Regions from separate parts of the Homo sapiens genome. Here all the other regions are linked to region 2. The links are contacts of gene promoters, found by promoter capture Hi-C in blood cells and fetal thymus (Javierre and others, 2016). All regions are on one chromosome and are shown on one strand. The core of a region is centred on a gene start or on the middle of the fragment in contact, and the rest is flanking DNA. Distances in the headings are between cores, read along the strand shown.

Region 1 (4,002 bases), core at 1,407-3,906, 400 kb before region 2:
CTTGATTTTCTACCTGACAGGAGAGATAGGGTTTGCTGGAATTATCCTTTATTCAGTCTTTGCACTACTTAATGGAAAATATTCCTCCAAAACAGGCCCATCTCTACTCTTCTTAAGAGTTCTTCCTAACCATGTATTTCCTTAATTAATAAAAATCCAAGAAATGTGAGCCTGCTTGACTGCTTTATGTATTTAAGTATTTATTTCTTTATTTTAATTTCCATAATTGCTAAATAATATATAAATATGCCACAGTAGATAAAAAACCTTTCAAGATCTACATCATAATCAACATGCTTTCTCATTAATTTAACAAGAATATTCTTTTTATCCTCTTTTCCATATTGTCAGTTTTATTATTGACTGCAATAAAATAGAACTTACATTGAGCTACTGATGATTATTAGTTGAGCATAGTTTTTCATCAAAAAATTATAAATGTGATGTCAGTCATATTTGTGTAGCAAAAATTTAACTGAATATACATAAAATAACACAGTTTGCTTCTTACTTTCCTAACCAGTTCTTAACTTCATTCTAGAAAGAAAATATAATTTCTAAATATATTTGACCCAATAAAACTACACTGGTTTTCAGGACGACATGGTATTTAAGAAGTAAAAATATTTATAACATTAAAAATAAATAAGCATTCAAATAAGTTACTTTATTATTAGGGAATCTTTTGGTATGTGATAATTAGGTTTCTTTATAAACGAAAGTAAACCAACAGGGTTGTATCTAAAAATATAGTATTTCAATTCAGTTATCTAATAGACTTGAATAGACTTTTGAATATATGTTACTTAAGCAATTTAAGGATCTAAACATACACCTATACTTTCTTTGCAACTTAATTCTCATATACTGATTCTCCGTAATTAAATAATCTGATTCATGACTGATTTTCTACATTGAAAAATAAGTGAACAAATAAAATCACCATCTGGATTTTTTTTAATGTGTCTTAAGTACATTGCATTTAAAAATTTTATTTAAAAAATGGGTTGCTCTATATTCATGTAATTTGATGCAAGAAGTAGCCAGAAAAAAATGTATAGGTGAAGAGAAAAAGTGTTTAAAAGCACGCATACATAAAAATCTACAGATGATGTGAACAACTTGATGAATTTTCACATGATGAATGCACCAGTATAACAAAAAACTAGATTAAGCTGCAGGACTTTTCTATTACCAGTGTCCTAGAACTCCCCTGTGTACTCTCTCCCAGAGCCTCCTTGGGAGCATTTCTTTAAAGAATCCTCATCTCAAGGTCTGCTTCTGGGAAATCCAACTTAAGACAGTGAGGATTAAGTTGGATTTTTTCTTTTACTTTACTTTTCCATTCCCCAATACCTCCAAAAGCCATCTTTGAGAGAAGAGGAGGAAGTCAAAGAGGTTAAGCTTTACCCTAAATAATTGTAATCAGAAGTTGTTTTTTGAATATACTAAATGATTAAACTGAAAAGAGATGACTAGAACTGGAAAATATTAAAAGAACAATGGGCACGTGTACATTGTCACAGCTATCCAAGGTGTAGAGGGACTATCAGAAAAGTCAAAGCATGTATAGAGAAATAAAGCCACTACGAATTTCCTGCATATCTGATGCTATCTGAGCTCATCAGATAACCCCTCCAGAGACACTCTATAATAGAGTGTGGAGTTCAGTGACTGGCACATAGCCATGCCCATTGAAGGGCAGTTATTCAATGCTGCCTAGGACTGTGAACCCCATGGAAGTAATTTAACTTCTATTGGCCTTTGAGTCTCCAACTATATAAATAAAGGGAGAAAATGCTGAAAAAAACGCTGAATTGCTGTAGTTTTCATATCAATAGCAACCTAATTGTAACTGGTTCCAAGAATTTCCACTTTCACATCAGAAAAGGCAAATGGTTATTCTTATTAATAACCAGCACAACATAGGTTCGGCCCTAGAGAGCTGTGATAAAGTCCCTGTGACTGGCTTCCGGAAGGCAGAGAAAGGGCTCAAGTTCCCCTGTGGTCATCAGCTGCCTAGGACTGCCAGGGTAATCTGTGAGGAGGTAAATCAGTCCCTTGCTGGAAGAGTGTGCCCAGATGTCCCTTTAATCATAAGCTAAATTTCCTATCCTTTGAAAAAGATCTGCATATGGTCAGCTGTAGACTAATAGTTGGAGAGGGCTGCTTTAAAAATCTGATCATCTAAGATGCTGCAGTGAAAAGGGTTAGGTAAAAAGAGACTAGAGCTAATGAATCATGCTAGTGAGATTGTTCTACAGTCCAGTATTCAATCTCAACATTGTCAAAAATTATGGGATGGTAAAACCCACCTCAACAGAAATAAGTTCAAAGCTCCTTTGCTTAATATTCAAGATCATTCATGATCTGGCTTGTCATTCTCCTCCAAAGGCATTTCCCACCAATTCTGTTGGCTATTGGGTCACAAAATATTAGTCTGCTATTCCCTCAAGAGAACTCCTGTAATTTTCACCTGCTATTCTTTATTATGAACTTTTTATCTACTTCATATTCCAAAATTCCCATGTTTTCTTTTAAGAGTCAGACTCAATAATCAAGTGGATTGGATCATGAGCTTTTTAAAAATGGAGCTATAAAAGACAGTTTGTGTAATAAGTGGGGAATTTGATTATGGCCTGAATATTAGATGAAGTAGGGAAGTATTGCTGATGATATTATGGTTATGTGAGAGAAGTTCTTACTTTTAGTAACTGCACATGAATTAAGAGAGAATGGTTGATGTCTGTAACTTATGGGTCAGAAAAAAGTACAGAGGGAAGATAAAGCAAATATAGAATGTTAAAAATTGTTGACTCTAAATGGTAACTACTCAGGTGTTCATCGAATTAATTTTTTTCAACTTTATGTTTTAAAATTTTTGTAATGAAAATTTGGGGTGGGCTAAACAAAGTAAGTCCCTCATATTATACTAAACCAAATATAAGTAATACGTTGACTTCTTTAGATTTACCTCAAATGTCATCACCTCAGTGAAGCCTGTCTTGAACTCTGCATTTGGAGGACCACATCTTACCCAAGCCCTAGTACCTGTTGCAGTGTAGGGCATTTTTGTTGACATATATGCAACAGAATAATTTGTCAACATTTTTTTTTTGTTTGAGTCTCACTATTTTTTCCTCTCTCACTGCCTAGAGATAAGCAGGACTTAGGGCATTTTCGTCCAAAATGCCAAACTTTGGGAAAGTGCCTTGTTGAACTGTACAGTCATATAAGTGTATTCAGTCAAATTACTGGTACAGAAAATAACTTCTGTTAGAGTTTGGAATACCCCAATACTGGAAACTTGGGTAATGACAGATGGTTTTATGAAAAAAGTGGTAAACAAGAAGAGTATTGAGAAGTGACATACAATTTGGATTGGGAGAAGGTATTCCTGGTAGCGTAAATGGTTTGGATACCGTGGAAGACAGAATGGCCAAAGTCTGTATGAAAACAAATATAATTTATTTATTCATTCAGCAACTATATACTGTTACTCATTTATTCATTCATTGGTACTCATTTATTCATTCAGCAACTATATATTGGTATATATTGAATAAAGCAATGTGCTAGGGACTGAAAATATAATGGTAAGCAAAATAAACATTGCCTGATGTTCCAGATTAGAGGTTGGCAAACTTCAGAGCTGTGGGCCAAATATAGCCTACTACTTATTTTTACAAATAAAGTTTTGATAAAACACAACCACACTCATTCATTTACATTTTGTGTATGGCTGCTTTTGGACTACAACAAGGTTGAGTAGTTGCAACAGAGTCTAAAGTACTGACTTCTTATCTTTTGAAGAAAAAAAAATGCTGACCCTTGCCCTAGAGCACACAACATTAAGAGGAGACAGATATTAGTTAAATAACTACAACTAAATTAAAAATGAAGCTTTGATAAGGGCCAGGAATGTGAAATATGTGGCACCATGGAAGCACATAATAAAGACATTTGACTTAATAGGAGCAATAACAGAAGATTCTTTAAATA
Region 2 (4,097 bases), core at 1,495-3,994:
ACTGACTTGTTCTATAGAAATGAGGTGACTGTTTCTCTAGCCAACTCTGTCAGCTTGAAGTACTACTGCTTATGTCCTAAAATCTCTTATGGAAACATTTCTTTGTCTTCTTATTTATAGTCCTGAAGCATGCATCTTTTATTGTGCTTTATCTCTTGTGTCTCTACTGGAGGCACCCGGGGTTTGAAGTTTTATCCCAGCAGTTATTTATTCCCCGTGCACATTTACTTTTTCTAATAATTGGCAGGGAGGACTTCTACTGCTCCATCAGTTTATGAGAGAAAACCAAACTGAATCCGAGTTTCAGCTCAACTGGGAACCCTGCTACACCAGAACTTAACCTGGATTCCAGATTGCTTGATAAAATAGCTAGTTGATGATAAGCTATAATTTCTTGACCACACACACACACACACACACACATGCGTACATATGTACATACAGCAGTTCCCTTCATCCACAGGATATGCTCAAACCCACAGTGCATGCTTGAAATCTCAGAAAATACTGAACGCTATATATACTATGAGTATTCCAATACATACATACCTATGATAAGTTTATGAAGTAGTCACAGTAAGAGATTAATAACAATAACTATTAATAAAATAATAACAATATGCTGTAATACAAGTTATATAAATGTGGTATTTTTCTCTCTCTCAAAATATCTTTTTGTACTATACTCACCTATTTTCAAACCCTGGTTGTCCACAGGTAACTAGAACCAAGGAAAGTGAGATGGCAAATAAGTGGTAAGGGATGCTACCGTATCTCACATACATATATTTCAAAATACGTCAAACCATACACCTCAAAACTTGTAATTTATATCAACATGATATGCTTGATACCATAGGCAATGCCATTTTCTCATTAACTCATCTCTTTCAGTTGCAAAACACCATATAAAAGGAATGGCACATGCTATAACATGTATTTTGGGTATTTTACATTTATCCAGATATGAATATAAGTAATATACTTAGTTATAATGTTCCCTTAAGCCACTGTTTTGCTACATGCTTCTACACATTAATTCTTTTAAAATTTATTTTAAAGGTAACACAGTTTTTTTCTTTTACAGTCTCCCCTTAGTAAATGTAGCTACTACGACTATGAGTAAAAGAGATATGGATGGGTGGAGGAGATATGGAGAGGCCAGCACTTTTGTAGATAAATGCAATGTGAAAACAAGGAACTACTCTTTAATTACTGGCACAGAAATAATGACAAGGAAACAAAATTACTTCCTGAATCACACTTTATCACCTGACTGGTTGCAAAGGCACATTTTTTTTCTGTTTTCGTCAAATTAAAATCTTAACCATGTAAATTCAAGGCTGTAAAGGAAAACTCAGGATCCTTCATAGTAATAATTACAGTATTAAAATTCTTAGTTGCTAGAAAGTGGTTAGAACCATTGAGAAACATTTTATCAGGTTACGTGGTTAGAGCAAGATTTGAAAAAACAAAATCAAAAACAAAAAACCCAATGTAAAATATCAGAACATCTGAGATGTCCAAGCTGAAAAGTGTAATAAACGCTATCAACTGTAGTGGAAAGAAAGTTCCAAAGTATGAAGTCCAGAGCAATTGTTGGTAGCATGAGTGGTGGGATTGAAGTAAACTGAAATAAATGGAAGGCATTTGTTTAACCTATGATATTGCTGAAAGACAAGTCCCAGCACAGTAGCTTTCTCCTTTAAAGACTAGCCAGATGTCGGCCTTTTTAAGAGCACAAAGAAGGGAGCCACAGAAAGAGGTAACAATGCTGGTAGAGAATGGCAGCTACAGTAAGGTTGTTTTTAAATGGATAGAAATCTATGTAAAGGTGACTCCGACAAAACACAGTAGCTGTCTCCTCCTCAGTCATTTAGGCAGAAACTTGCACTAAGTAAAAAGGTGCAAGGTATTTATCAGCAATTCCCATTATCTGGTACTTTTATTGCTTTGGCATGATTAGCAGAGACTGTTTGGCCAGCGTTGTCAACTATTTGCTTTTTCATCAGCCTGATGTTTGGTCTGCAATCCCTCTAAAACTAACAGCAAAAGAGAAACTCGGAAACTTGGGAAGTTTCAGTTGGCATTCAGATGTCACCCCAGCCTACTCTCTGTGAGATTTATTCTGCATTTTAGAAGCTCAGTGGCTGTTGCTCTTTTTGATAGCCAACAAGAAGCAACGTCATAGACCTGTTTGGCTGCTGTCCTGGGTAGAAGGGTTTGGCAGCCCTAGGGAGATGAATTTCTCCAGCGTTGGACCCGCCCAGAGCGGAGAAGCAACACCCTTCCAGCCACTACTCTGTTGCTATGAAACAAAAGACTAGGAAGGTAAGCGAAGCAGGAAGTCCCGCCTTTCAGCCCCAGATGGCTTTGGCTCCCGGTCCCGACGCTCACGCCCACCTGCCACCCCTTATTGGTTAGCTCCTTCGTGCCTTGCATCCCTTCGTCCATTTCCTTTCCCGTTTCCACTTTCGTTCCCGGGAGAGTCCAGGCCCCTCATTTCTCTCCGAGTCCAATTCCTTTCTGACGTGCTGCGAGCGGGCCTTCCTCTGGGGCCATTGTGTACTGTGGAGGACGTGGACGGGGCGGCAGCGCGAGGAGGACGGGCGCCTCCCGTCCATTGGCTGCACCCGCTGTCGGGCAGTGCGCGGTTGCGCGGCATTGGCTCAGCGGCGCCCGGCCCCGCCCCCGCCCCGCCCCGCCCCGAGCCTGGGTCCTGTGTGTGCCACAGGGGTGGGGTGTCCAGCGAGCGGTCTCCTCCTCCTGCTAGTGCTGCTGCGGCGTCCCGCGGCCTCCCCGAGTCGGGCGGGAGGGGAGAGCGGGTGTGGATTTGTCTTGACGGTAATTGTTGCGTTTCCACGTCTCGGAGGCCTGCGCGCTGGGTTGCTCCTTCTTCGGGAGCGAGCTGTTCTCAGCGATCCCACTCCCAGCCGGGGCTCCCCACACACACTGGGCTGCGTGCGTGTGGAGTGGGACCCGCGCACACGCGTGTCTCTGGACAGCTACGGCGCCGAAAGGCAAGAAGGGAAGGGGTCGCCGGGGAGGCTCCACACTTCTTGCCGGCCCGGGGGCCCGGGGTAGCCAGGCGCGGGCCAAGGAGGAAGAGGGGACAGCCCTGGCTCTCAGCTGCCTTTGCCGCCGCCGTCCAGTTTGAAGTGGGGCATTTAAAGACCAGAACCCGCAGGCCGGGGAGGAGGGAGAGGGCGTCCAGGCAGACGGCGGTGAGGACTGCAGCAGGCGGCCGGGAGGCGCGTCCACCCAGGCGCCGAGCCCACAGTGTCCCTCCCGCGCCCTAGACGGACGGTGCTGCGGGCACGGGAGGGACACTTTGTCCCCTCCCAGTCCACCTTCCTCCTGCAGCTCAGACCCGAGGGGCCGGGAAGGGGCCTGAGCAGGGAAGGGACACAGGCGTCCTGAAACAAAGCTTTGGGTTGAGGGCAGAGGCGAGGAGCCAGAGAAGTGAACTCCTCCTTTCCGTGGCCGCTCTTGTCATTTTTCTCTTTTCTCTTTTCAAATGGGCTATTTGTGTGTTAATTTCATTTGGTTCTTGGGAATAACGACTCACCGCGTTGATTTAAAGAAAGGTGTTCGTGTGTCCGTACTTGGTGGTTTTAGTGTGGGACATGCCCTGCGCTTTTGTTGACAACAGAGCTGTCCCTTACGTTTGTGTAGGATAATCTTTATGTTTATGTAACTTGGAGAAATCTAACAGAGTGAAAGTGAAGTTTCTGCGTAAGGCTCCCAAAATGTATGATAGGACCTTCAGTTGTTCTGGTATTTTGAATTGGAATTAAGGCAGGAGGGGAAGAACATTCTGTTTTTATCTAGGTGGGGGAAACCTGTTTAAGTTTTGTTTGTTCTTTTTTTTTTTTTTATGAGTTGAGTATTAGTTCAGCCTTAGCTACTTGAAACGTGAGCAGGATGCATCTTTAACTCTTAGTATTGTAAAAGCAAATCTAGGATCACTGCTCTTAAAACTACTGTGTGTAAAGATTGAGAGTGTAAATTCACAAGCTTATTGATAAAGATGAATCCGGAACTTTTGGTTTTGCTCTAATCGATGGAGGAAGATGCAGTGGTACAAGTTAGTCTCT
Region 3 (3,980 bases), core at 866-3,365, 340 kb before region 2:
AAGACAATTGGATTTATCATTACTAGCTCTAATTTTTAAAAAGACCTATAAAGCAAGGTCCTCTTTTCATTGTGACCACTGTTTAATTGATCTTTTCTATATACAACTGAAGTTTTTTTTTGCTGAAGTGTATATGACATGTTTCTTCCACTCAGGTTAAATGTTCTGCTCTCCAGGATAAATGGGAAAATATAAGACTGGAATCAAGCATTAATCCTGAGTGGTTTAGGTATAATATAATTAAAATGTATATGTATCAAAAATATTGATAAAAGCTCTCATTCTTGGAGATTAAATAATGTGTTTGGATGTGATTTTAGTTGTTTGTTTAATAGAAAAATAAATTTATAGCTTACTTTTAGAGATTTTTAGGCAAATAGTATAAGATAGAGATATAAAGTTCAGGCTTTGAAATAGAAAGACTGAGATTAGAATTTTAATTTTACCATTATTAGCCTAAGTTTTTTCATCTGAAAAATAGAGATAATACAAACATTAGATTTTGTTGAAATTGATGAACAAATGTAAATTGTAAACAATTGGTGAAGCAACAAATGTAAAATGTAAAAAGATGAACATCAATTGTAAAAAGTTGATAAACTAACAAAAGTAAAAAAAATGAACTAACATAGTGCTTTATGTGTAGGAGTTTCAATAAATACTATTATAATCAAAGCAAGCTGTCAGAGACCATCATTGCTTTTATCTGAACAGAGCAAAATATCAACTGCTAGAGCTCTCAGATTCTTCCAAGATCCATCCTGTGCAATTTTCAGCAGTTTGCAACCCAGTCACAGGCTTCCTTTTTCACTGGACCTTAGAATCCATTCAGATCTCAACTTGCACAGGGCCACACACCCCCTGCAAAGATGCCTGAGCTAAATTTCTACTAGCCTCAGCAACCTTACACCAATGCTATCCTCGAGCATTGAACAGTTCTCTGGACACCTGCAGCGAAGGTAGTTTTCAGCAGTTCTGGTTGAAAATCATTTTCACATTTCCATTATTTCGGGATTTTGTCTGGTTATTATCTCAGTGCCCCTCCTATCATGGTATTCTTATTTTTCATGTTCTTGACTCAATTACTTCCTTCCAAGTATTTCCATTGCACTGACTGAAAATGCATACAGTTCTATTTTCCTTTTTACTACCATTTATCGATTTCCTGGAGTCTCATTTATATTTATTGAAATACATGAATCATGTCTCATAATTTATCTCACTTACATGGTATCATGCAACTTGGAAGTAGAGATCATAAACTAGTTTCTAAGGATTCTGTCATCCTGAGTACTTTCCATTTCTACCTAGATGACCTACTTGATAAAACGGCTTCACTATTTCTTGAAGTCTACTAACTCCATTCAACTTCACCCATGCCTGCACACAAACTGGAACCCAGATTTTCTTATTACCTTTCCCTAGCATTCTTTCTACTTCACAAAGTTGCCTGTCTCCAAAAGCAGTGGCCGATTAAATGAAACCATATATGTTAGGCAACTAGCTCTGTTTCTGGCATGTTAAACAGCAGCTAAAAATAAACTAGTCAACTTTTCCCTCCAGTCTCAATTTCGGTAGGTGAACATATTCCTCCATGCAACCTTAAATTACATATTTAAATGATACTACTCAGAATGTCATATATCATGTAGGAAATTGTAAACTTGCCATTACAAATAATAGACTATACTCAAAACAAAACAGTTATTATCCATTCACGCATATCATGCTTATGTCTGTTTCTTTTCTTTTGTGAAAATAACTTCTTACTTTTCAAAATATGTGATTATGCAAAAGTTTCAAGCAAAATTTTCATATTTACCTTCAACAAATAGATCCTGTACTGAGTCATTCTGGGGGATTAAATAATGTTTGGATGTGATTTGTAGTTGTTTACTTCAATCGAAAAAATAATTTGTAATGTTTACTTTTAGAATCAAAGTTAGAAATATCCTTTAAAGTTCATCTAGACCTGTTCAGTGTTCTAAAACAGTGACAAGATGGTCTTTAAAATGAAGATCTGTACCAGTGACAATAGCCTGTTTCCTCCCAAAATCTTTCAGCGTAACACTGCAAAGAGCATTAGTAGAAAGGAAAATACCTAATTTCTACTCTCTGATGTAATCTTCATCTTTATGTGAAGAGCACAAAGATGACTTAGTGTTGCCACAAGAGTGTTCCCATCATATCTCTCAAGGGATGATAAACGTCAGTTGTACTCACCCCGAATTATATTATTTTTGGCTTCCTTCATAAATCAAACCTGAAACACTATTGATGTGTTATTATAAAAGAAAATATATAAACTAGGGAAAATATTAGCAAATTGGAAATTCTCAGCATATTGCAATATGTTTAAATGCCTCACTAGAGACTTACCTGGAATTCATGTTATTATGATTTGTTTTTATGTTCTTGTTTTCTATTCATCGCCTATTGATCGATTGACATTTCTCAGTCATTGAAAGGCCTTGCTCCTGCTCATGCTCGAAGCATGAGGAGAAAACAAACAGCAATTCACCATTCTTCTTGTTTTTCTACCTAATAGAAGGTAATGGGTTTTTCTAGAAAACTGGTTCTTGCTGGCTAACTTTCTACCTAAACGCCATGAGCTTTCTTTTAATCTTTAAGGCTCATATAATTGTATATTCAGTAGGATAAAAAAATTTGAATGCTTTTGATGGACTTCCAAGGACATGAACTCAGGGATATTATTGATGTTTTCATCTTTGCCATATCCCTGATTCCTTTGTACCTTGTACATGCTTTTGACATCTTTAATGACCACTAAAATCTCTTCAAATACAGTACATTAATTATATGTATATTCCAATACATTTGGTTTTTTTATGGCTATTGAAATACTGCATGTTGACGTGGACAATAAAAGTCAAATGGGCATTTTTTTCTCATGGTCTAATAATAGTGAAACAAGAAGTTACCACTACAATTTTAATTGTTTAAAGTTACAAATTGCATGCCTTACATTCCACTTAGGCAGTCAACATTTGTAGAAACTATTAAAGTCATTGTTATAGTGAATTTTTAACTTTGAATATATATAAGGAGAAATAAAACAACCAGTGAAAACATATACAAAGGTAACTCTTGGCTGTCTTTCTGCCCTGTTCACATCTTCCTTAGCACCTAAGAAAGTAAAGTAAGCTATATGGAATTTGTGCCCCTGTAGGTAAAGCATGAAGAAAAATTCTCTCTCAGTCTCCAAGGGATAAAATAATGTTTGAGAGAAAATATATAAAACTCTCTCTAATACCTCAAAGTAACTGAGCAAATTTTTCTTACTTTTCTTCTCCTTTAGTTCAGATTTTTTGAAAGAAAAGTTAATCAAACTAGGAATTATATAGTGAAAAACAATTACGTTTTTCACTTAAATGATTTTAGCTACTACAAATTCATCATGTTACCTCTAGTATGTATCACTGCACTGACATTCCCAGCAGATGGCAATGTTAAGACTTAATGTTATTGTTTGATTTATTATAGGTATGCATCTATATTGGAGAAATGAATGCTAAACAAACGAGGTATTTGTTAATAAAATTTATTTCATTCTCCCTTTTTTCTTTGTTGAATTTATACATGTTTATATCATTTTTTAAAATTAAGTTTGGCATTAACTTCAAAGAAAGTAATGGTTATTATTCAAAGAAAACCACTTAGTAATATCATTGTTACCAGTGGTTAGAAAAGCCTCTTTTGAAGTAACTGACTCTTGAAAGCCTTAGGAAGCACTTAATATAAAATAAGATTTATATACAGTCCTGTAACACATAATAAAATAAAAACACAGGAGCTAATTAGAGATTGCTTATTAAGAATACCAGAAACAAGGAAATATGAAAAATTATCTGCAAGAACTATGTTCCCAAGACTTGAATACTATTAAGAAAGTGAAATGTAAAAAAAAAAAATTACTTACATAAAACAAAGGTGATAAAAAAAGATAAAAGAAAAACAAA
Region 4 (3,725 bases), core at 323-2,822, 510 kb before region 2:
TTTATTCATCTAGTTTGAGACTATAAATTGTACAGTGTATAATTACAGTTCTGAAAATATCTAAGAAAAAGTACTATAGGTATTGAAAAGAAACCAGTATGAGTAACAGCTCAGATAGTAAGAGACATAAGGCATTTCATAGGCGCTGACAGGTTAGTACTAAATCAGGAGATATTTTGTTAATGATACATACCAAGCAGTCAACTAAAATGTGGACGGGTCAGAAAAGAATTAATCCTAAGAAATTTGGAGATTAGCATCTCAGATTTCTCCTTGAAGTAACCTCATTATAATTTACTAAGGTGCTCTGCTGAGTCCATAGCTTTATCGTAGGATTCTCACTTACGTACGCAGACATAATGACTTATTTTGACTACATTGGACCTTACAGCCTGCATTTCTATAGCATAAGAAAATAAGTCCTCTAACAAAATAGGGGCATTTCCTCAATAACAGCCCCAGAATTAGGGTGAATGGGTTCCTTAATTTGGAGGTGATTTGATGGAGTATTAGTTATTTTTCTACATAAGAAAGATGTACTATGACAGGGTAGGCTCTGTTGTCTTAGTGAAGGCTGAGTAGGATTATTTGAACATAATATCCTTTTTTTTTGAGATGGAGTCTTGCTCTGTCACCCAGGCTGGAGTGCAGTGGCGCGATCTCACCTCACTGAAACCTCTGCCTCCCGGGTTCAAGCAATTCTCCTGCTTCAGCCTCCCGAGTAGCTGGGAGTACAGGCACACGCCACCATGCCCAGCTAATTTTTTTTTTTTTTTCAATTAGAGACGGGGTTTCACCATATTGACCAGGCTGGTCTCGAACTCCTGACTCCGTGATCTGCCCACCTTGGCCTTCCAAAGTGTTGGGATTACAGGCATGAGCCACAGCGCCCAGTGGAACCTAATGTTCTTAATAATGTTCAGCAGAGATAGAAAGTAATGAGTTGAAGAATTAGCTAAAACCTGTCTATGGTGGTTTTAGATATGTCCACACATTCTTTGACTCTCTTCCCATTGAGAGGTAGGACCTATATGCACCCCATTTATACATCTGACAGGACATGTCTCTGTTTAAACTCAAAAAGTATGGCAGAATTTATGCCATGTAATTTTCACAGCTAGGTTAAAAAAAAGGACACACAGCTTCCATCTGTTTTTCTTGGAACATTCCCTGTTGGAACTCTGAGCTGTCATGTAAGAAATGCCACTACCCCAAAGCTGCTATGCTGTGAGCAATGGAAACCCAGGCCACATGAAGATGCCACGTTTAGGTACATTAAACAACAGCCCCCCACTAGGACTCCAGCCCATAACTGATTTCAACCACTGTGAAATTGTCTCCAGGCAATTCCAGCTCCCACCTCGTGAGTCATCTCCAGCCATGGAGTCCTCCTCGTTGATGCCGCAGACAACACAGACCACAGGCGAGGCATTCTTGCTGTCCCAAAGATGACCAAATTCCTGACCCAAAGATGCTGTAAACAAACAAACAAAAAATGTTTGTTCTGAACCCTAAAATTTTGGAGTAGTCTGTTAAGCAGAAGTAATAACTAGAGCAACCCTCTCTTCCTATCACCTTTTTTTTTTTTCCCATTGATGGCTAGTGAAGATAAAGACTTTGGTGGAAACATGACTTTTGGGAAATTATTTTGAGTGGAGGTGGTTAGAGGTAATGATCTTAGGAAGAAAATGAAGAGAAAGTTGGAAGTCCATGTTTTTGTCCTTTAGCACTATGTACTCTTGCCTTTTAGACTTCTCTTCACATTACTATCAGAGCAACTACTTTTCTCTGTATTATCTCTTTCCTTCTGCCTCTTGTCTTTGTCTCTCTGCTTGTCTCTTTCTTTCTCTGTCTGCTTCTGTCTTTCAAATGCATCATCCACTTTGCACCCCTAGTCACACCATTGCTGTGGTTCACTTTACATTTTCATTTTGTTAAGCTATTTCAGTGGAGTCTCTATGTCATAAAGTAACAAGTAACAGAGGTTTTTTTCTACTCAGTGAAAATCAAAAGCAAAGGAAATGCATCTACTTGACAGACCTGGAGCAGTTAATATCTATCTACTCATAAGGTGTCCACTGCTACAGAAGAAAAAGAAAAAAAAGTTCTTGCTTTCTGTCTAATTGTGGCATCCAGGATTAAATAGGAGTAAAGAGGGATTACTAAAAGCAAGGGGTGGGGAATGATTTTTATAATAAGAAATAAACTTGTGAGCAGTAAAGAGCCCTTTTATTCCAAAAAAAAAAAAGGAATCTAAAGTTTGTGCTTGCATTTTGAAAAAGCAAATGGCAATCGGGTGGCACGAGTCGATGGCAGGAGCATGCAGTGGTACTGACCCCAGAGGCAGGGACACCTTATCCATTAAGTACCCTGGACAGGTTGCCCAGGATTCACAATACTTTTAGGAGCCCATAAAATGTTTTACATTTCTTCAAAATCAGAAGGAAAAAAAGTGAACTTTTATAATAGATGAAAGAAAATATTAAAAAATATTTTAATTACTATCTTTGTATACCAACTGTATCAAAAATAAAATCTTATTGTTTAATGAAGTAAGGGGTTCATGATACTTAGGGTCCGTAAAAGTCATAATGCAGCCTGCTGAGAAAGCCATGTGGGAAAGGACATGGAGGAAATAGGACTGCCCACGCCCTGCTATTATAACGGTAGCTTCAGTGCCCACCTGAAGCAGCAGGTTTTGCATGTCTACAGCTTAGGCCCTTTGAATGGAGTTTCTGCACAGCACTTGTGATCTTTTATGCATCCAATTAGTACAATTTCATAGTATACATGCTTTATTACCGTACTCCTTCATATCTATCTGAGCTAGAATAGAGTCAGGAGTTTGGAAGGAGGAAACATACAAATATACGATTGTTCCTGAGTTTCGGTTATTCCTCAGCAACAGTGTGTGCCTGAGCATTTACCAGACTCATGGGGGAATGAGAAGCTCCCACTGCCGGTGGAAGGAATACTCTTCGGTGATCTTTGTTAAAGACAGTAGCTCTTAACATTCTTTCCATGTCTTCTCAAAGCAGGGACCTCATTTGGTCACATTTTAAAATAGGATATTCAAGGAGCAGTTTGAATACTTTATCAGTTCTTCTCAGGTGCTCATTACCAAGAGGAAACCAGTGAGAATTGCACAATTAAAAATAAACTTTTAAAATCAGTATAATTTGAAGATGATAAATGTGAATATTGGTCATGCCTGTGGAAATATAAACTCAAACAGGGCAAACATAACAGTCTATCACATTATGCATCGTTGCTAAAAAAAAAAAAAAAGCAACAACAACAAACAACCTTTCAAAAAAATCACCTAAGGAGCCTGTCCTACCAAAGCAACTAGAAGAATAAGGTCTCACTGATAAGGCATAGTGGGGAATAGAGAAGGAAGGCTGTTCAGAAGGTCCATCTTGTTCACCTGTACTTTCTCCAGGACTCAGCATAGTGCCTGGTACATACTAGGTACTCAATAAATATTTGTTGAATAAGGAATGAAGCAATGCATAAATATAGGGCTCATTCTAGTATACTTATGTCTAATTCTGCCTTTTTCCTGGTTCTGCCCAGCAGCACACTAGCTTCCTAAAGAGGAGCACCTAAGAAGATCCCTGAGTCTCTTTTACTCATTCCTGCTTCCTCCCTGTAACGTTACCGCCTTGTTACTGACTCTCCCTTTTCTTTTTCTTCTGATCACCACTTACCTCCTGCTCTGATGC
Region 5 (3,673 bases), core at 346-2,845, 370 kb before region 2:
TGCTTGCTCCTTGCATTGAATACTAGAAAATTAAATGCATAGCCACTCTTCCTTAGGACAAAGTTATCTTATCTATATACAGTTTTAAAGTGTGGGGATCCAGTACTCATCCACTGATCTTTGCTGCTAAGAACCCAGAGTAAGCTGGCTCTGAAGAGGACAGTACCTTAAATACTTTTATAATTATGTTTTGCATTCTTCCCCCAATCCGACTCCTATAACTAGATACAGAAACTACTCAGTCCTTCAATTATGAGTACTATATAAGTAAATTAAAGGAATCAACATGCATTCTAGAAAAAAGTACAAACAAAAAGCAGTAAAGGAGAAAAGGAATAAAGAAAAAGTGAAATAATGCAAATACCAGAAATCTGTTTTTTCACAGTAGATGAAAATCATGGTCAAATGGCTGGCTATATGTTATCCTATATGAATCAAGAACAAAATAAAAATATAGATGACAAACTATGGAATTTGGGATTATATACTTACAGAACTTTGGGTATTATTCAATCTAGTCTTAATATTTTTAACTTGAGTTTCAGTAGGTGGATCTTGGGGGATGGGATGAAAAGAAGAAATTAAGACCGTCTTCAAAACAAGAAAAAAAGAAGCAGCACAAGGAGAAAAGACACTGTTGGGGAAAAATTAATATGAGAAATGGATGTAAAAATGAGAAGAGTTAATCAAAAAGTCTAAAAAGAGCTCTAAAGAAAACAAATGAAGTAGAAGACAAGCAAAAAAAGAGTCAATATATGAAAAATCTACATTTTCATATAAAATTTTAGTAGATTTTAGATTTTAGTGTGCTAAAGAAGCAAACTAATAAGAGAAATAAATGGTAAAGGTTTACACCTCAAAAAAATTTACCCCAAATTGAAGAAGCTTAAGCAACATAGTTTTAAAAAGCTACATTACAGCCCAGATAAAACTCACAAGAAATAGCAACACAAAGACATATCACAAGAAAATTACAATACTTGAAAGATCAGTAAAGTATTTGAGTAGCAGCCAGACCAAAAATCAAATGCCTTATAACAGGGGAAAAAAATCGTTTTGCTTGTGGCTTCTCCACAGAAACCTTCAACTCATATAAATGCTGTGGAATGAAACCTACAAAATGTTCAAGGAAAGAGTGACCTAAGAATTTTATATTCAGCCTATCCCTCATTATATATACAGGCAACACATAAATATTTTTGAACATGCAGAACTCCAGTATATTTTTCCCATAAACTCTCTTTAGTATCCTACTAGAAGACAAGTATCAGCCAACCAAGAGAAAATTGAATAAATTATAATAAAATAACTGGTGGTGAGTATTGATCATATTTAGCTTGGGACTAAGATTTGAAATATGCAAAAACTAAAGCCTGCAACATAATAAACAATGTTATATGCACTGATAATATAACTAATAAAAATAGTATAACGGAATGTGGCAGGGAAAAAGGATGGGGAATGGAGGTAAACTAAATTGCTGATTTTCTCAGTTTTAAGAGTGGGAGGAGTAATCAGACCTATTATTTAGAAATAAAAATAAATTAGCAGACATACAGGTATGTTTAAGTATGCAAAGATAAGCAAACATTAAGAAAAATAATGCATTGACTGAAACTAAGTGGTGGAGGAAAGAGTAGGGAAAAGAGAAAAGGGAGAAATATGCTAATGTTGTTATTGTTCACAGAAGGAAATTAATAGATACAGTCCCAAGAAAGAGGAGATTAAAGGTATCCTTAAAAAATAAACACTCTAACAAAAACTCAAATCATCTTCTTTATCAGAAATGCACCGTGAATGTATAACATGCACGCACACCTATGCATGAACATGTATATGAAGCCAAGCAAACAGACCACAAAAGATTTTTATAGACATAATAGAACTAAGGTCAAACATGTCTACCATATCAATAACAGCAGATAAACTAAGCTGTTAATTAAAATAATTACTTTCAAATTTGATCTCAAAGTAAAATCCAACTTTATATATTATGCAAGAAACTCCAAATAAACTGACTCAATGTCCACATACAAAAGAGAGACATAATTTTATCAGCCAAAAAAGAAGCAGGAGTTAAGATTTGAATTTCCAACAAGGTTGAATTTAGGCAAAAAGGTGTTATGTGAAAAATACTAATAAGGGTACTTTGTAATGCTAAAGAATGCAAACCACAGTAGAGTTATACACCAAATAACACAAAAAACGTTCAGTCACACAAGAAAATAATCAAATATTGAAAATACAAAATGAAATTTTAATGAAAATATCAAATGCTGATGGGAACATTTAAAATAAAAGCTTTTTACTTCCTGAATAAATTAGAAACTGTATCTATTGCATTCATCAGCACTTTTTTGGTTGCAAGAAACAAAAATTCTGTTTAAGCAAAGTTTACGCTAAAAGCAGCATTCTTTAGAAGATACACGTAACTGTGGCTGGGCTGCACTGAAAACAAGAACCAAAACTGATATGCTGCAAGCAGCAACTTGGTCTCATTGCTGTTTGTCTTCCTTTTCTGCTGAGCACATTCTTCCATGAAGTGGGGAGCCTTGCTGGCAGCTACCTAAGGACCTCACATTTCCACTACCAGAGAGGAACTGAATTGCTGTCTTTGATACACTTTAAAAATCCTAAAGAAGGGTACTCAATAGCCCAGCTTTACTCCAGTGCCCTCCATCCCGGGTCAGTCTGCTATGGCCAGTGGAGACTGTGGCCTCTTTGGTGTAGATTTCCAACCTAAAACAATCACTATGAACAGAGGAGTGAGGAGAATTAAAAGGTGTCTCTCTCAATTTGTCTATTTGATTCCAGTAATTAGAACAGGCAGACAACTTCCTAAAAAACGTAAATATAATTCTGGGCAGAATAAACAACAGGTATATTATGAATCTTTAAAATGTTTATATCTGACAATATTTTTCAGAACTGAACATTGAAAATAATTTAAATGTTTAACACAAGTAGTATATCCATTCAATGTCAGTGACTCAAATTGCTTATAAAGAGTCCATCATTACAGGAAAAGTATTATGATACAAAGTTGGTGAAAAATAGTAATATAATTTTTTAAATTACTAAATTTGAGGCATCCAAAAATACTAGAAGATGCATTAAAATCAGTGGTTTATTTTATATGCTTTTTTCTTTTCCTATACTAAATATGTAATACTTTTATGACAGAATGAAGAAGACTCTTTTTTATATAAAAAAGAATTTTTACCTTTGCCAATTCTTCCTTCCCTCATGTATTTGGGAGAAACCTGGTTGAGGTCATGATTATATCATAAGCAAAGTTTTTCTCGTAAGAGTAATCTAAGAGTCATATTATCATAGTAACTATCAAAGATATGAAGATAAAAGGATATCCTCTCTGTATTCATATTTCTATGATATTTTTTATGTAGGACCACGATGTTATGATAATAATTGCAAAGAACTTTATCGAAGGATCCAAAGGGTAAGAGGGGATGGAGAAGGGCACACATGATCAGAGAGGTGTGAAGATGGATGTAGATTCCTTAAATCCTAAAAGAAAAGGGTCTTCACTACTCTAAGTAGCTTAAATAAGTAAGAAATAGAAATTGTGATATGATTGGAAAATTGAGATTTAAGTGCAGCACGGATAGAGTGCAAGTGCTGTGAATTTAAACACTTTTCCTAGTGTGAAATC
Region 6 (3,838 bases), core at 71-2,570, 420 kb before region 2:
AAATACAAATTTTGAGGAAGGAATTGAGGTATAATGGTAATACAGGTTTCAACAACCACAGCAACATGCATTTGTCTGGCACTTCTAAGTTTGAAAGTGTTTTTTATATATGATTGCTTCTTCAGTCATCCCCTAAACTATATAGGTAATTCCCTAAATGATATAGTTATTGCAGATAAAATTTTCCTTATTTTGCAGAACAGGGGATTGAAATTCAAGGAGTCTAAATGACTCAGAAAATAAAACATGTTAGAATCAATATACTCACTTGATTTCTGCAGTAGTCTGAGACACGTAAGTTTCAGAAAACAAACAAACAAACAAACAAAAAACAACAAAAAAAACACAAACACCTGAATAGCTTGTTAACGTTTGCAGTTCTAGGCTCTATCTCCAAATAATCTCATTTAATAAGACTAAGCCCAATATTCTATCTTCAACTAACCTCTCATGGTTATGAATAATACTCCCCTACATCTTCTGTGTATGCCAGATACTATTTTCATTTATTTTTCTCTCAGCTTTGAAAAATAGGCTACATTTCATCTTCTGGCATCTTATGTATGAAAATACTGTTTCTGAAAGACAGCTTATCAGAGACATCATATTGTCACCTTTTGTTATAATTATTTTTCAGGTTTTTTGCTATTAGAATACCAAACAAATTGTTTTTCACCTAGTTGTCACCTCATAGAAATGTACTGTAACATCTTACTGCATGGCAAAAAAATTCTTAGCTTGGCATTCAAGACAGTTCATCAGTGCTTACTCTGTTTCTGTAATAGGCCTCTCTGATATAAATATTTCTATTTCAATGTTCCTCCTCTCCATGTTGGCTATAGCATGATGTCACACTTGCTCCAACTGAGATTATGCACAAAAGGATTTTAATATAAGAGTTACCAAATGAATCACAGAATGAGATAAGCCTCATTGGGTTGTCCAAAGCCATTAAAATTGTCTGAACTGACCCAGAAGACATCGTATTTCACCTTAACCATTGGTCTTGACCCTTCACGGAAAAGGACTTGGGCATTGTGAGTGAGCAGATTCTTCTGTTCTTCATCAGTATTCAGAAGAAGGAATGCTTATAATTTACAAATTTATTTATTTATTATTTTTATTATTATTATTTTTGAGGCAGAGTCTCACTCTCTCACCCAGGCTGGAGTGCAGTGGCCTGATCTCGGCTCACTGCAACCTCTGCCTCCTGGTTCAAGCAATTCTCCTGCCTCAGCCTCCCAAGTAGCTGGGCCTACAGGCACGCACCGCAATGCTCAGCTAATTTTGGTATTTTTTAGTAGAGACAGAGTTTTACCATTTTGGCCAGGCTGGTCTCGAATTCCTGACCTCGGGTCCTGCCTTGGCCTCCCAAAGTGCTGGGATCACAGACATGAGCCACCATACCCGGCCTGAAATGCTTATAATTTTAGAATAATTAAAATCACCAAAGGAGCTAGTCTTCCTTTTGAGCTTAGGTTGTAAGGTGGCTGATAGTCCCATTCATTCAACACAAATTAAACTTTCCAGGTTGTAGAGGATAAGTGAAAGAAAGGACAATCAAAACAGAAAGCAAATATGCACATGGACATACATGTATACATGTATGCATATATGCAGCAAGGAGGCTCTACATATGTGTGTGTGTGTATATATATACACACATACAAATATATACAGGTATATATGATGTGTTTATATGATAAAATTCCATTCACAAATGCTTTTATGTTACTAATGTTTCTATTATTTACACATAAACATTTTAGAACAGAGTTGAATATACAAAGTAATGGATACCGTACTCTATTGGAAATTAAGTATACTTTCAAGGATAATTTTATTTGATTTCTAGCACATACATTGTTAGAAATTAACCCCAGCCAAAATATGGAACACTACTGTATGCTGAGTATCCCTGCTTCATGTCTTTCTCCCCACCAGTTTCTCCTAGATATGCTGATTTGAAATAAAATAAAATGGTGAAGTTCTCTTTCCTATGCTATTGCCTCAAAAAAGATTTGAAAAGGAAAGTAAAAATGATTTAAAGGTTGTACCATTTTTATTTCTCACTACAGCCCTGAGAGCTAGAGGAAGTTATGATGTAAGTGGAAGGGGCAAGACCACACACATGCATGGCACCATCCCAGGAAGGTTTTGAGACCCAGTGGGGAGTGTCTTCACTATGCACCTAAGGAAGCTGGAGACCAGGCCCCAAGGTCTCAAAACACTCAGAGTGTCTGGGCACACCTGTATGGCAGTGGAAGTAAAGCTGGTAGATATTAACATTAATTGACTGATGAGAAGACTCAGAACATAAACACCTCAGATGAACTAGCAAGAAGGGCAGACTAGAGAGGCCTTCTCAATCGTGCTTTGTGAAAACCTGAGACCTACAGCTGCCAGTGGTGGAGATGAGCAGAAGATGCAGTAATGACTAATATTAAATTTCCCACTGATCCAGCAAGATTAAGTCATGGGATCCATTTAAGTTGACTACACAAACAAAAATGAAGAATGTGATGGTTCTTTCTCATCAGAGTTTCACATGAAAGTTAAGATTCACTTGTTTTTCACATTGAGCTCTTTATGCTTTCTGCCTTTAATTCAAGGTCTATTTTACATTTCTATTATTATCTATTTGTGATCAAGAATAAAAGCAAGTTGAGGCTTTGTAACATTCAAAATGATCACAGCAACCAAAATGTTCAACTGAAGAATATACCACTGAGTGAATGAGTTGTAATCATGCTTATCTGATCTTGAATAATGATTGTATGTACTCATTCAATATGCACTAGAAGGCTAATTGATTAATTAAAAAACTATTTCAATAGAGATTCTATATATTTTTAATTGTAGAAATTAAAATTACAGTCATTTCCAAGAACTCCTGAACTTTCCAGTCTATGATGCTGAATTCTCAATTTTAGGGTCCATGTCCCTTAATGTGGCATTGGAACTTTGGCTTTTATTGTTCCTTGGGCTTTTATTTTTCCTTTACACTTTTTTTATATGTATTTCCTTTCTCTGCAACAAATGTGCTAATACCTTCAGGGAAAATATAATATCCTCTACTACTGAGCCCTTCACAACATCTCACCCTATAACATTTGTTAAATATTTTATAACTTAATCTTTGGACTCTTCCTATGTTTGAAATGAAAACCTCTAAAATTAACAGAGATAATTAACATATTACTTTATCTTTTTGGAAAGGCTATTTCATGTCAGTAGAACAATTTCTAAAATTAAGATAAATTAAGGTAGAGGAGAATTTATTTGTCTGAACTGAAACTTTTTACTCTTTATGCTCTGTCTTTCCCAGATATTAAGCAACAGGAAAGTTACTGACTACTAAATATTTATTGTATTTATTCACCAATCTTGTTGTTCTCTAAAAGGTTATCATCACTTAATGAAAAAGTTACCCTCATTTTTAAAAGCTATGTTGTGGAAGTGTTCTAACAATTATGTATTCTCCTTCATTTTCCCCACTGTACACTTGCCCAGATGTTCATTTTTTTTCTAATTCTCCAGGAAATCTATCTGTAAATCATAACTCACAGAAAAAAAACTATGCCTTCCTATAGTTTCAAGTAACAAAAATAGCTATTGGTGTAGAATGTAAGCTAGATCCTTTTGATGTGTTGACTTCCTAACCAGGCTATGCACACTAGTACAAATTTAAGTGGTAGCAAGTTTTATTTTGTGTTACTTTCTCATTGCCAGTAATGGACATGTTGGATGCTTGACCTGACTTTGATACATACAGAGAACACTGACAGAAAGCTTATTATATGGTGCTACTCTCTTGGCTTTGATGTTCTGTAAACCA
Region 7 (3,764 bases), core at 1,245-3,744, 360 kb before region 2:
TTTCTGATTAGGCCAGGCCCACCTAGGACAATCTTCCTTTTGGATAACAAGGATCACTCAATAGGAGCGTTAATTACATCTGCAAAATCCCCTCACTTTTGCCATATAATGTAACAAACTCAAGGAGTGATGTTCCATAAACCTTGCCATATTCTGTTGGTTAGAAGCAAGTTCCACATCCCTCCCAACTCAAAAGGAAAGGGGACACACAAGGGTGTGGATGCTAGGGGTCAGGAATCATGAGTGCCATATAGGAATTCTGCTTCCCACAGTAAGTAATCGCTAAAACTATAAAATCAAAAAGCAATATAATTGTGTGGGTGTTTTAATATGGAGGCAATATCTAAAGAATCGGCTAAAATGTATGAAAGTAATTGTCACTATAGAGAAGTATGTAGAGCAAGGTTAATTAATTTTGTAATTATTTGGCTCTTTATGTGCAGGCATATGTTGTTTCATTTTAATTGGATTTTATTTTTATCAAATGATTGTAATGTGGTAATTGTATAGAAGATGCTTAAAATTTTCTCGAATAATAAAAAGGAATGAGAGCAAAAAAAAAAAAAAAAACCAAAAAAAAACAATGGGCTGGAAAGCAATTCCTTAGAAAAGATATGGGAGTTTTTGTTGACTGTGAGCTCCAAATAAGTCAATGATGAAATATTTTTGCTATTAAAAAATTAGACACAATCTCAGGCTTCCATTCATAGAAATATGAATAAATGGGAAAAATAATTGTCCTACATTATCCTTCACTGAAAATTCCATATTCGAAATTGTGTTCATTTCTAGGTGCCTAATTTAATTCTATTTTTCTATTACTGTAACATTGATGGTTTATTTTTCTTATGGAATCAATACATAGTCTCCATAAAAAACTTTAGAAAATAGTAAAAAAGGGAAAATATGCAAAGTTGATACTTGAAAACAAATATCACAAACATTTTGGTGCTGAACTTTTAAGCTTTTTTCTCCATATAGATATATGTATATTGTATATATATACTATATACATAGTTTGGATGCTGCTTTTTTAACTTAATAGCATATTTTATACTTCTATTTCTAGCCAAGATTAAAAAACATGGACCAAAGAAACCCTCATTTTTAAAACAACTAAAAACCAGCCAACATATATGAGACAACAGTTGGGATATTGGTATCAGTCAAGAAGAGACAGTGATCCATGAGAGATAGGAAACAAACATGCGAGCCCTGTGATTTACTGTCTTACTGGGTGGAGAGAAGTTCAAAGCCACAGAACAAGGAAGACGAACTCAGGCAGAACCTGGTGATTCTTTGAATGGAACTGAGGGTTCCAAGAATCAGAGAAGCCCAGGCAGCTGGGATTTTGGGGGCAGCATTTTAGAGAAGAGTTCTTGAGAAAAGAGAACTACATATAAAGAGAACTCTTGTGATTTTCAGAGGGAGTGCCCCTACAATATTCAGCTGAACTCAAAACTGTGAGCCACAGAAAGTTCTAGGACAAGATGGCTTTGTTTATAATGCTGTCAAACATTTAAGGAAAAAAGAATAATATAAACTCACTAAAATTTTTCTATTGCATAAAAAAATAGATACATGCCAATTTATATTAAGGGCCAGCATTATCATAATAAGAAAATAAAACTACAAACAAATTATGTCATAAACACAGATACAAATTTAACTTTGCAAACTTAAATCATGTTCAGAAAATATTGTATTCATTTATTTTTTTTAATTTCTAATAATTTCAACTTTTATTTTAGATTCAGGGAGTACACGGGTAGGTTTGTTATACAAATTATCCCATCATTCAGGTAATGAACATAGTACCCAATAGGTTGTTTTTTAGCCCTTACCCTCTTTGCCCACCCCCCAGTAGTTCTCAGTGTCTATTTTTCTCGTCTTTATGTCTATAGGTACCTAATGTCTAGTTGCCATTTATAAGTGATAACGTGGTGTTTGGTTTTCTGTTCCTATGTTAATTCGCATAGGATGATGGCCTCCAGCTGCATTCACATTGTGGCTGCAAAGGACATGATTTTGTGCTTTTTTAAGGCTGTGTAGTATTTCATGGTGTATAATTATCACGTTTTCTTTATTCAATCCCCCATTGATGGGCATCTGGGCTGATTTTCTGTCTTTGCTATTGTGAATAGTGCTGTGATGAATATGTGAATGCATGTGTATTTTGTAGAAAGATTTATTTTCTTTTGGGTATACCCAGTAATAGGACTGCTGGGTTGAATAATATTTCTGGTTTTAGTTCTTTAATAAATCTCTAAACTGCTCTGCACAGTGGCTGAACTTTACATTCCAGCCAACAGTATACTCCCACCAACAGTATACAAGCATTTCCTTTTCTCCGCAGCATTGCCAGCAACTCTTATTTACATTCCCACCAACAGTATATAAGCATTCTCTTTTTGTCATATTCTTGTCAGCACCTGTCATTTTTTGGTTTTTTTTTTTTTAATAATAGTCATTCTGACTGGTGTGAGACGGTATTTCACTGTGGTTTTGAACCGCATTTCTGATGATTAGTGATGTTGAGCATTTTTTCATGTTTGTTGATTACTTGTATGTCATCTTTGAAGAAGTGTTTATTAATGTCCTGTGCTCACTTTTTAATGGGGTCATTTTTTTTTAAGTATTGAATTAAGTTCCTTGTAGATTCTGGATATGAGACCTTTGTCAGATACAAAGTTTGCAAAGATTTTCTCTCATTCTTTGGGTTGTCTGTTTACTCTGTTGATAGTTTCTTTTGCTGTGCAGAATCTCTTTAGTTTAATTAGGTCCCACTTACTAATTTTTGGTTTTGTTGCTATTTTTTTGAGGACTTAGTCATAATTTTTTTGCCAAGGTCAATGTTCAGAAGGGTATTTCCTAGTTTTTTTTCTAGAACTTTTACAATTTGAGGTCTTTTCTTTAATTATTTAATCCATCTTGAGTTGATATTTGTACACAGTGAAAAGTAGGGGCCTGGTTTCATTCTTCTACATATGGCTTGCCAGTTATTCCAGTACTGTTTATTAAACAGAAAGTGTTTTCTCCTTTGCTTATTTTTGTTGACTTTGTTGAAGACCAGATTGGTTTCAGCTTACTTCTGGGTTCTCTATTCTGTTCCACTGGTCTATGTGTCTGTTTTTGTACCAGTACCATACTGTTTCGGTTATTATAGCCTTATAGTATAGTTTGAAGCCAGGTAATGTGATGTCTCCAGCTTTGTTCTTCTTATTTAGGATTCCTTTAGCTCTTGGACTCTTTTTTAGTTTTATCAAAAAGCATTTTGAAAGATAATACATCTTGACCAAGGCAATTAGCCAAGGAATACAAATGGTGTTTAACATTAAAAATAAATCAAAGTAATTTATCCTATTAATATTTTTTTAAAAAGGAAACCATATGGTATCTCAAGAGATATAGAAAAAAAATCTATGAACATTATCCAACATTCATTCTTGATAAAAGCACTCAGCAGACTAAGACTTAGAGATACTTGTTTTTGAACCAAATAAAGTACACCTATGAAAAACTACAGCTAAAATCATAATTAATAGTGAAAAATTAAATATTCTTCCCTGAAGATTAGAAACAAGATAAATATTTCTGCTTTCACCATTTCTATTCAACAGGATTAAGGTAGCTCCAGTTAGTGCAATACAGAAAATAAATAAATAAATAAATAAATAAATAAATAAATGGCATTCACGTTTGGAAAGAGGAGGTAAAACTATTTTTAAAAAGTTTTTTTCATGACCCTATTGTCAGTGTAGAAA

The links. The method cuts DNA at HindIII sites, captures the fragments that hold promoters and counts their contacts. A CHiCAGO score of 5 or more calls a contact.
Region 1: a fragment that was not itself captured here is called in contact with the fragment with the promoter of CBLB in region 2 in 5 of 17 cell types (total CD4 T cells, total B cells, non-activated CD4 T cells and 2 more); the score reaches 8.0 in total CD4 T cells.
Region 3: a contact is called between a fragment that was not itself captured here and the fragment with the promoter of CBLB in region 2, in 8 of 17 cell types (naive CD8 T cells, activated CD4 T cells, naive CD4 T cells and 5 more). The highest score is 11.8, in naive CD8 T cells.
Region 4: a fragment that was not itself captured here is called in contact with the fragment with the promoter of CBLB in region 2 in 2 of 17 cell types (total CD4 T cells and total CD8 T cells); the score reaches 5.4 in total CD4 T cells.
Region 5: a contact is called between a fragment that was not itself captured here and the fragment with the promoter of CBLB in region 2, in 1 of 17 cell types (activated CD4 T cells). The highest score is 7.0, in activated CD4 T cells.
Region 6: a contact is called between a fragment that was not itself captured here and the fragment with the promoter of CBLB in region 2, in 1 of 17 cell types (activated CD4 T cells). The highest score is 5.9, in activated CD4 T cells.
Region 7: a contact is called between a fragment that was not itself captured here and the fragment with the promoter of CBLB in region 2, in 1 of 17 cell types (activated CD4 T cells). The highest score is 6.7, in activated CD4 T cells.

What each region holds. Positions count from the first base shown.
Region 1 is chr3:106,263,539-106,267,540 of GRCh38, reverse strand. No RefSeq gene overlaps it. Among named protein-coding and RNA genes, the nearest start is that of CBLB, 400 kb to the right of the region's middle. The HindIII fragment of the contact is 2,499 bases long and covers 1,407-3,905 here.
Region 2 is chr3:105,867,659-105,871,755 of GRCh38, reverse strand. CBLB (Cbl proto-oncogene B) reads left to right here and starts at 2,744. Exons shown (of 19, transcript NM_170662.5): 1 at 2,744-3,020. RefSeq lists a silencer at 2,546-2,775. The HindIII fragment of the contact is 9,979 bases long and covers 1-3,429 here.
Region 3 is chr3:106,208,648-106,212,627 of GRCh38, reverse strand. No RefSeq gene overlaps it. Among named protein-coding and RNA genes, the nearest start is that of CBLB, 340 kb to the right of the region's middle. The HindIII fragment of the contact is 5,079 bases long and covers 1-3,980 here.
Region 4 is chr3:106,373,823-106,377,547 of GRCh38, reverse strand. No RefSeq gene overlaps it. Among named protein-coding and RNA genes, the nearest start is that of CBLB, 510 kb to the right of the region's middle. The HindIII fragment of the contact is 4,859 bases long and covers 1-3,725 here.
Region 5 is chr3:106,241,821-106,245,493 of GRCh38, reverse strand. No RefSeq gene overlaps it. Among named protein-coding and RNA genes, the nearest start is that of CBLB, 370 kb to the right of the region's middle. The HindIII fragment of the contact is 1,416 bases long and covers 888-2,303 here.
Region 6 is chr3:106,289,071-106,292,908 of GRCh38, reverse strand. No RefSeq gene overlaps it. Among named protein-coding and RNA genes, the nearest start is that of CBLB, 420 kb to the right of the region's middle. The HindIII fragment of the contact is 4,948 bases long and covers 1-3,794 here.
Region 7 is chr3:106,225,961-106,229,724 of GRCh38, reverse strand. No RefSeq gene overlaps it. Among named protein-coding and RNA genes, the nearest start is that of CBLB, 360 kb to the right of the region's middle. The HindIII fragment of the contact is 3,056 bases long and covers 967-3,764 here.